2 separate regions of the Homo sapiens genome follow, and region 2 is linked to region 1. The links are contacts of gene promoters, found by promoter capture Hi-C in blood cells and fetal thymus (Javierre and others, 2016). All regions are on one chromosome and are shown on one strand. The core of a region is centred on a gene start or on the middle of the fragment in contact, and the rest is flanking DNA. Distances in the headings are between cores, read along the strand shown.

Region 1 (3,337 bases), core at 235-2,734:
AGGAGAAAGGATAAGCATTTATTGAGCACCTACCGTATGCCAGGCCCTGGGCTAGGGACTTGAGGTACATTAAAGCATTTAATCCTCATTAACCCAATTTTACAAATGAGGAAACTGCCACAGAGAGGTGAGGGGACTTGTTCAAGGTTTGACAACCAAGTAAGGGAGCTGGGATTTGAACCCAGGTCTCTCTGGTTTCAAGACCAATACTCATAACCCCCACATGGACCAGGCACCATCACACCTGAGCACTGCACTTAGGGTCAAAGACCTGGCCCCACATCTCAGCAGCTATGTAGACTAGCTCCAGTCCCTTAATCTCTCTCAGCCTCAGTTTCTTCATCTGCAAAACAGGTCTCAGTTTCGTTGCAAAGTATGAAGTGCTGGGCTGTTACTGGTCAAAGGGAAGAGCTGGGAAGAGGGTGCAAGGTGGGGTTGGGCTGGAGATGGGCTGGAGCAGATAGATGGAGGGACCTGAATGGAGGAAGTAAACCAAGGCCCGGTAACATTGGGACTGGACAGAGAACACGCAGATCCTCTAGGCACCGGAAGCTAAGTAACATTGCCCTTTCTCCTCCTGTTTGGGACTAGGCTGATGTTGCTGCCTGGAAGGGAGCCAGCAGAAGGGCCCCAGCCTGAAGCTGTTAGGTAGAAGCCAAATCCAGGGCCAGATTTCCAGGAGGCAGCCTCGGGAAGTTGAAACACCCGGATTCAGGGGTCAGGAGGCCTGGGCTTCTGGCACCAAACGGCCAGGGACCTACTTTCCACCTGGAGTCTTGTAAGAGCCACTTTCAGCTTGAGCTGCACTTTCGTCCTCCATGAAATGGGGGAGGGGATGCTCCTCACCCACCTTGCAAGGTTATTTTGAGGCAAATGTCATGGCGGGACTGAGAATTCTTCTGCCCTGCGAGGAAATCCAGACATCTCTCCCTTACAGACAGGGAGACTGAGGTGAGGCCCTTCCAGGCAGAGAAGGTCACTGTTGCAGCCATGGGCAGTGCCCCACAGGACCTCGGGTGGTGCCTCTGGAGTCTGGAGAAGTTCCTAGGGGACCTCCGAGGCAAAGCAGCCCAAAAGCCGCCTGTGAGGGTGGCTGGTGTCTGTCCTTCCTCCTAAGGCTGGAGTGTGCCTGTGGAGGGGTCTCCTGAACTCCCGCAAAGGCAGAAAGGAGGGAAGTAGGGGCTGGGACAGTTCATGCCTCCTCCCTGAGGGGGTCTCCCGGGCTCGGCTCTTGGGGCCAGAGTTCAGGGTGTCTGGGCCTCTCTATGACTTTGTTCTAAGTCTTTAGGGTGGGGCTGGGGTCTGGCCCAGCTGCAAGGGCCCCCTCACCCCTGCCCCAGAGAGGAACAGCCCCGCACGGGCCCTTTAAGAAGGTTGAGGGTGGGGGCAGGTGGGGGAGTCCAAGCCTGAAACCCGAGCGGGCGCGCGGGTCTGCGCCTGCCCCGCCCCCGGAGTTAAGTGCGCGGACACCCGGAGCCGGCCCGCGCCCAGGAGCAGAGCCGCGCTCGCTCCACTCAGCTCCCAGCTCCCAGGACTCCGCTGGCTCCTCGCAAGTCCTGCCGCCCAGCCCGCCGGGATGCAGTCCGGGCCGCGGCCCCCACTTCCAGCCCCCGGCCTGGCCTTGGCTTTGACCCTGACTATGTTGGCCAGACTTGCATCCGCGGGTGAGTGAGGGGCCTGAGACCCCGACCCAGCCTGGCGGAACTAGAGGGGTTCCTCCGGGAGGGAAAAGGGACAGGAGGAGCCAGAAGTGGCCCCCAGATCGGGAGTCAAGCAGGCTGCGCTTCTCCCACCACTAGCTGGGGTCGCCAGGGGTTCAATCCTGGGGCGGACACGGGACCCCGCTATCTCAGGTTATGGGGTTTCTAGCTAGCCAAGGCTGTCCAGTTAGGGGCGGGAGCAGGCGCCCCAGGCATGGATTGCCTAGGGCGTGGCTTTGCCCGTTTGGATTGTCTGAGACACCAGTGGGGCCACCCCAATGCTGGCCGAGCTTTGTTTGCCAGGCAAGTTTGGGGTGAGTATGTTGGGGTCCAAAGGGACCCGGCGACAGTGAGAAGTGGGTCCTCCAGCTTCAGATGCCCTGGGCCAGGAATGGGGAGTGCTACAAGGTGGGAAACGAGGAATGAGCCACCCTGCCCTCCCCTGTGAGGAGCACCCCCACACCCCTCCAGCTGCCCCCCAGCTCTGCCCCTTCTTTCCTCCCCTTGCTTCCTTGCAGATCCGTCTATCTGCCACCTCCCCTCTTCATTCTCTCCTCTCCCTCCTCCTGTTGGTGACAGGCAGGACCCCCCACCCACTACCCACTCTCAGCCTCCTAGAGGGAGAGCTGGTGCCCCTCAGCGGGGCTTGTCCTACAGATAGCTCTGGACCACCCCCTGCCACACCTCCTCATCCCAGCACTGATGCCTGACCCAGCAGAGGCTGAATGGAAGTTCGCTTTCCGAGAAGTGCTGGGATATATCCCCTCTCTGTCCCGATGCCAGAAACCCCAACATGACAGCATTCTTCCTTCAGCGAAGGCAGCTCTAGTTATGCCATAAGAACTGTGGCCTTAGGGCCCATCCATCATCACTACCCACGTGTGATTCAGTGCTTCAGCTACACCTTCGAGATCATTCCCAAGAGCAACATGGAGCAAAGGCAGGGCCTGAGCCTCCTTCACAAGGGCCCAGGCCACACCCTTCTCTCCTTCAGATGGAGAAGCCAGCTCTAAAAGAGGGCATCACATGGTTCCCAGAAGGGAAGTGAGTCAAGGGAGGACCCCCGCGGGGTGAATCAGGGCTGGATCTCCAGGCTCCCTGTTCCTGCAGGGACCAGATCCCCTAAGATCTCAGGGCCTGAGGGATGGGCTGGGCCGCCAGGGAGATGGGAAGGGAGCATCCAAGGTGACCAGGGTGGTCAGCTCATTCAGGCCCCAGCCTCCAGCCAAGGAGGGATTCCAGTACCCCCACCTCCTTGGGCTTCAACTGAGAGCCATTCTCAAATACCTTCTTAGCCCTGACAGCATGCAGGCATGGTGCTAGGCTCGCAGGGGCACGGGAAATTGAGAGGCTGAACTGAGACTCATTCAGGAGGCAGAAAGGCAAATTAAATCTCAAACAGCAAAAATCTGGATGAAAAGTACAGAGGGGAGAAAAGCAGGGGCAAGCTGGGGCAGGACACAGGGTGGGCCTCAAACCAAGCCTTGGTGGATGGGAAGGGAGTCAGTCCTCCAGGCAGGGGCGCTGACTCAGAGGCACCAAGGTGGGCGTAAGCAGAGGGGTGTTGAGACAGGAAGGCCAGCAGCCTGGCTGGGAGGCGTATTTCGAGCACAGGCCAGGGAGAACCACTGGGCTGG
Region 2 (3,875 bases), core at 994-3,493, 350 kb before region 1:
TACTTTCCAAATAATTCCTTCTATTCACCTATACCTTTCTCACCACTATCTCAACTATGTGACCTGAGTAGAAAAGCTATTAGCCCCACTGGGTGAATTTTCACTGATGCAACTACAGCAATTTCTAAGTCCATGAGAACTGCTAGGAATGTTTAACAAAATCCAATACCTGCATTATAATAATGCACTTTAAAAAAATGATTAAATACACATCCATAGCTGAATGCAGAGATTCCAAGAACTTTGAATGCATAATTGCTACAATCATAGAGAGACTGGATTACGAGCCACGGCTGGTACGGATGGATTCCTTCCTCCCATTAAGGCACTCACAGGCAAGTGTGATAGACAATGTTGCTCTGATGACTGGCAGTGAGACCAGAAGATAGTGTGAAGGGCAGCAAGGAGGGTAGGGTGGGATGCGATAATGGAAAATGGGAGTGATTCATTCTACTTAATGCATATACGTTTTATGGGTTTAAATCTGGAGGGAAACAACTTTTTAAACTCAACTCCTTGTGTGTGAGAATTAAATGGAAGCACATCTTGGACCCCACTTTTTATAGGTTTAGTGCCACCTCAAAAAATTCCATACTGATCCATTCTGAAACAACTGCTTTTCTTACTGGAAAGCCACAAAGTTGGTGCAGAATCTATGAAATGGAAAATTAGACCCAAGCCAACATGCTCATGCATAAGCTTGATTTTAATGAAAAGGTACACGGAGCAGCCGCACCTGGAGGAAAAGCCCCCTCAGGGCTCCCCACCTCCAGTATCCCCATGTGCTTGAGTTTGCATCCTTACCCTGTCCCTGACTGTGTGACCTTGGGCAAGTTAGTTAACCTTTCTAAGTCCTGGCTTGTTCATCTTCAACATGGACATAGCAGGTTTGCTGTGAGGACTAAATGAGCTCATACACAAATAGTTTTAGCTCAGTACCTGGTACATATGAACATTTAAGAAACATGTCCTTCTCGTGATTAGATGTGACACTCTGACCATTTTAGAAGCAATTACGGTTCAGCTATCATATCCCAACATCTTGTGATAACCATTTTCATTTTTTGCTTCTAGCTCTTACTATTCTTTTCATCACAATATTTTAGGGTGGAGGTATTTGGGGGAGGAGGTAAGCAGTTATATACATCCCATTTTCCCACTGTTGTTCAAAGCAAGGTGAAAAGCCAGGGAAATAAACACATGCACTGAAGAGAAATTCAGTCTTTAGGATATGATGTGATAGGTGTATGGAATATAAACAAATCATATAATTTCAACCTCTCACATATAGGGCATCAAATCATAGGTAGGTCTTATTTTAAAAGAAAAGCCAAGCAGCATTAAAGAGGATAGAGGGAACCCATATGGGCCTATTGCTAGCTCAGTATTGGTGACTGTGAAACAGGGATGGGTGAGCTAGATTACGGGGGTGTTTCATGGGGTCTGACTTCCAACAGGTGGCTAGCTTTAGTCATGTTCAGATGCAAAACCGTAATGAGTTTGAGTATGCAAGTCCCAGGGATTCTGTTGAAGGCCATCTTTTCTCGGCCATCAAGGGAGACAATTTTCTAGGTTTAAGCCTCCCTGGCAAGTTAGCAAGCAGGGAACTGCCTGCCCTAGCTTGCACCTGTCCCCTGAAGGGGATTCTGGCCTGACGGTGAAGACCCACCATCCCTTCCAGACAGCCCATTCTGCCGCTGGGGCACCTCCCGACAAACGGGGGAAGCCCACTAGGAAGTGGTCACGACCAACCAAGCCACAAATCCTCAGGGTGTGGGATTTCCACCTCTATACCACGTCTGAAAACCGAAAATAGGCGCCCGCTTGCCATACTGCAATGGGATTCCCCCCAGCAGCAACCCCCCCCTCCAGCTTGCATGTTTTATTAATAAATGCAAGATGGCACACGGAGGCAAAGAATGGGAGGTAAGGCATCTGCAGCTGGACCCGAACCAGGGCAGTTTGCAAAAATAAATAAGAAGCATGTGACAAGAAGCAGGTCTCCAGGCTGGAGCTGAAGCCCTGGGCTGCCCCACGCACCCTCGCCTGGCTCCCCCGGCCAGGGGGATGAAGGTCAGCGGCAAGATCCCAGCCCTTCCGAGCACGCATCCTGCAAACCTTGACCGGTCCCCCCACCCCCCGCCCCGACCACAAGACTCGGGCAGTGAGGCAGGGGAAGCTCTGGCCGCGGCCGGCTGCGAGGACACATACCTGCTGCCCGGGCTCGGGATTCGCTCGGCTCTGCAGCGGCGCCGGCCGCGGCTCGCGCTCCCGGGGCTCCCCTCTCCGCCCCCCCGCCCCCTCGCGGCCCCGCCGCTCCCTCCGCCCCTCCGCCCACCGCGCTCGGGGGCGCGCGCGAGGCCTCGCGCCGGCGGCTTGGCCGAGCCCGCGCCTGCGCCCTCGCCTCCCGCCGGCCGCGCGCGCGCGCCCCCGAGGCTGCGGAACGGCGGCGCGGCTGTCTAGGAAACCGCGGCGTCGGCTGGCAGGGGCTGGCGGCCTGAGCTGGGCAGGGGGCGGAGGCGGGGGCTCGGCTGTCTCCGGGGCTGCCACGCAGAGCGGGCTTCGTGGCGTGGGTGAGGGGGTCGCGGGGCAGGGTCGGGGCCTGAGTGCGAGCGTGTGGAGAGGCGAGGGGGCCGCGAAGGGTGGGTTTGACGGGGACGCAGGCGGGGCGCAGAAGCAACAAGTGCGGAGGCCGAGGGCGTCGCTCGGGGAAGCGGAGGACCCCCGCGGGATTTCGTACAGCTGAGAATGGGAACCTCCCGTCGCTTTGGCGCAGCGCTTTGCAGTTTCCAGAGCTCTTTCCCAGTTGCTCCGTTTCATCCGCGCGGGGCGCCCGGTGAGGGAGCGGATGGCACGCAGTGCCCGCTGCGCTTGGAGGCCACCGAGGGGAAAACACCTCTTTCTGTGTGGCCGGAGTCATAGCACGGTCAGAGTGCCTTGACTCTCAGTTGGCTGCCTGGGAGAAAAATACCTGTCAGTACATTCATTTGATGGCCTCAGCTCAGGACCCTTGTAGGACCGTGTTTCTCCTCTTTTTCCGTTTTTCGTTATCTGACTCTTAAAAAGGCTTTTTACACGTCCCCATCTCCTTTCCCCGTGAAATCCCAGTACCGCAGATACACTGTCGACCTGCTTATGTGCTGTATGTGTTATCCGTGCTTGATGCATAAAAAGTAACATTGCGCCCCTTGGAGGCAGCATCGCCCCGGTGGAGAAGCCTGTCCTAGGGCCATGATTGCCAGTTACCGGGTGGGTTAAACGGAACCACTGAGCAATCTGGATGCACCCACAGATATTCTCTGTGGTTAAAAAAAAAGTCCTCACCCATAATGGGTACTACTCTAATTAATGTTTGCAAGGGCTGCTGTGAATACGGCCATTTAAGCAGCTTCTGGATTCATAGTAGCTTATTATCGTTTGTCTTCTCCACCAATTCTTGCTAAAAATATAGCCATTTTCCTATAGGGTGTTGCGATTTTTATCTTAAAATATTTGAAAAGATGGGAAACCCTTGTTTCTAGGACACGGAGTTTCAGAATGGCTTTTGGCTCTGCAGATAGGTTTGATTTCTGATTCTTGTACCTCTTCTAAAGTGTTTTTATTTGATTAGGTCCAGTTGGCCTCCCAGGAATGTCCTTTGTCTTTTCTTCCTGCCGTAGCTTTTTTAGTATGGATAAAATGAAAATGGTAGAGTTGAAGGACTTCAAAACCACCTCTTGGAATTGCCCCACGGTCTTGGACTACCTTCCCTGGATTATACGGGAATATCTATACAGGGAGTATCTACTTTTGGCAAACTGAGAAAAAAATGTAAAATTTCTTCAGATCCTCCTTCGCCTTTCAGCATTTCCTACTCATCTCTAATCTCTAATGGT

Evidence for each region. The method cuts DNA at HindIII sites, captures the fragments that hold promoters and counts their contacts. A CHiCAGO score of 5 or more calls a contact.
Region 2: a contact is called between the fragment with the promoter of TMEM266 here and the fragment with the promoter of CSPG4 in region 1, in 2 of 17 cell types (M0 macrophages and M1 macrophages). The highest score is 5.9, in M0 macrophages.

What each region holds. Positions count from the first base shown.
Region 1 is chr15:75,710,995-75,714,331 of GRCh38, reverse strand. CSPG4 (chondroitin sulfate proteoglycan 4) reads left to right here and starts at 1,484. Exons shown (of 10, transcript NM_001897.5): 1 at 1,484-1,664. The coding sequence starts at 1,577. The HindIII fragment of the contact is 21,900 bases long and covers 1-3,337 here.
Region 2 is chr15:76,058,353-76,062,227 of GRCh38, reverse strand. It overlaps TMEM266 (transmembrane protein 266), which reads right to left and starts at 2,243. Exons shown (of 11, transcript NM_152335.5): 1 at 2,212-2,243. It also overlaps a transcript of NRG4 not described here. RefSeq lists a silencer at 3,201-3,250. The HindIII fragment of the contact is 3,394 bases long and covers 702-3,875 here.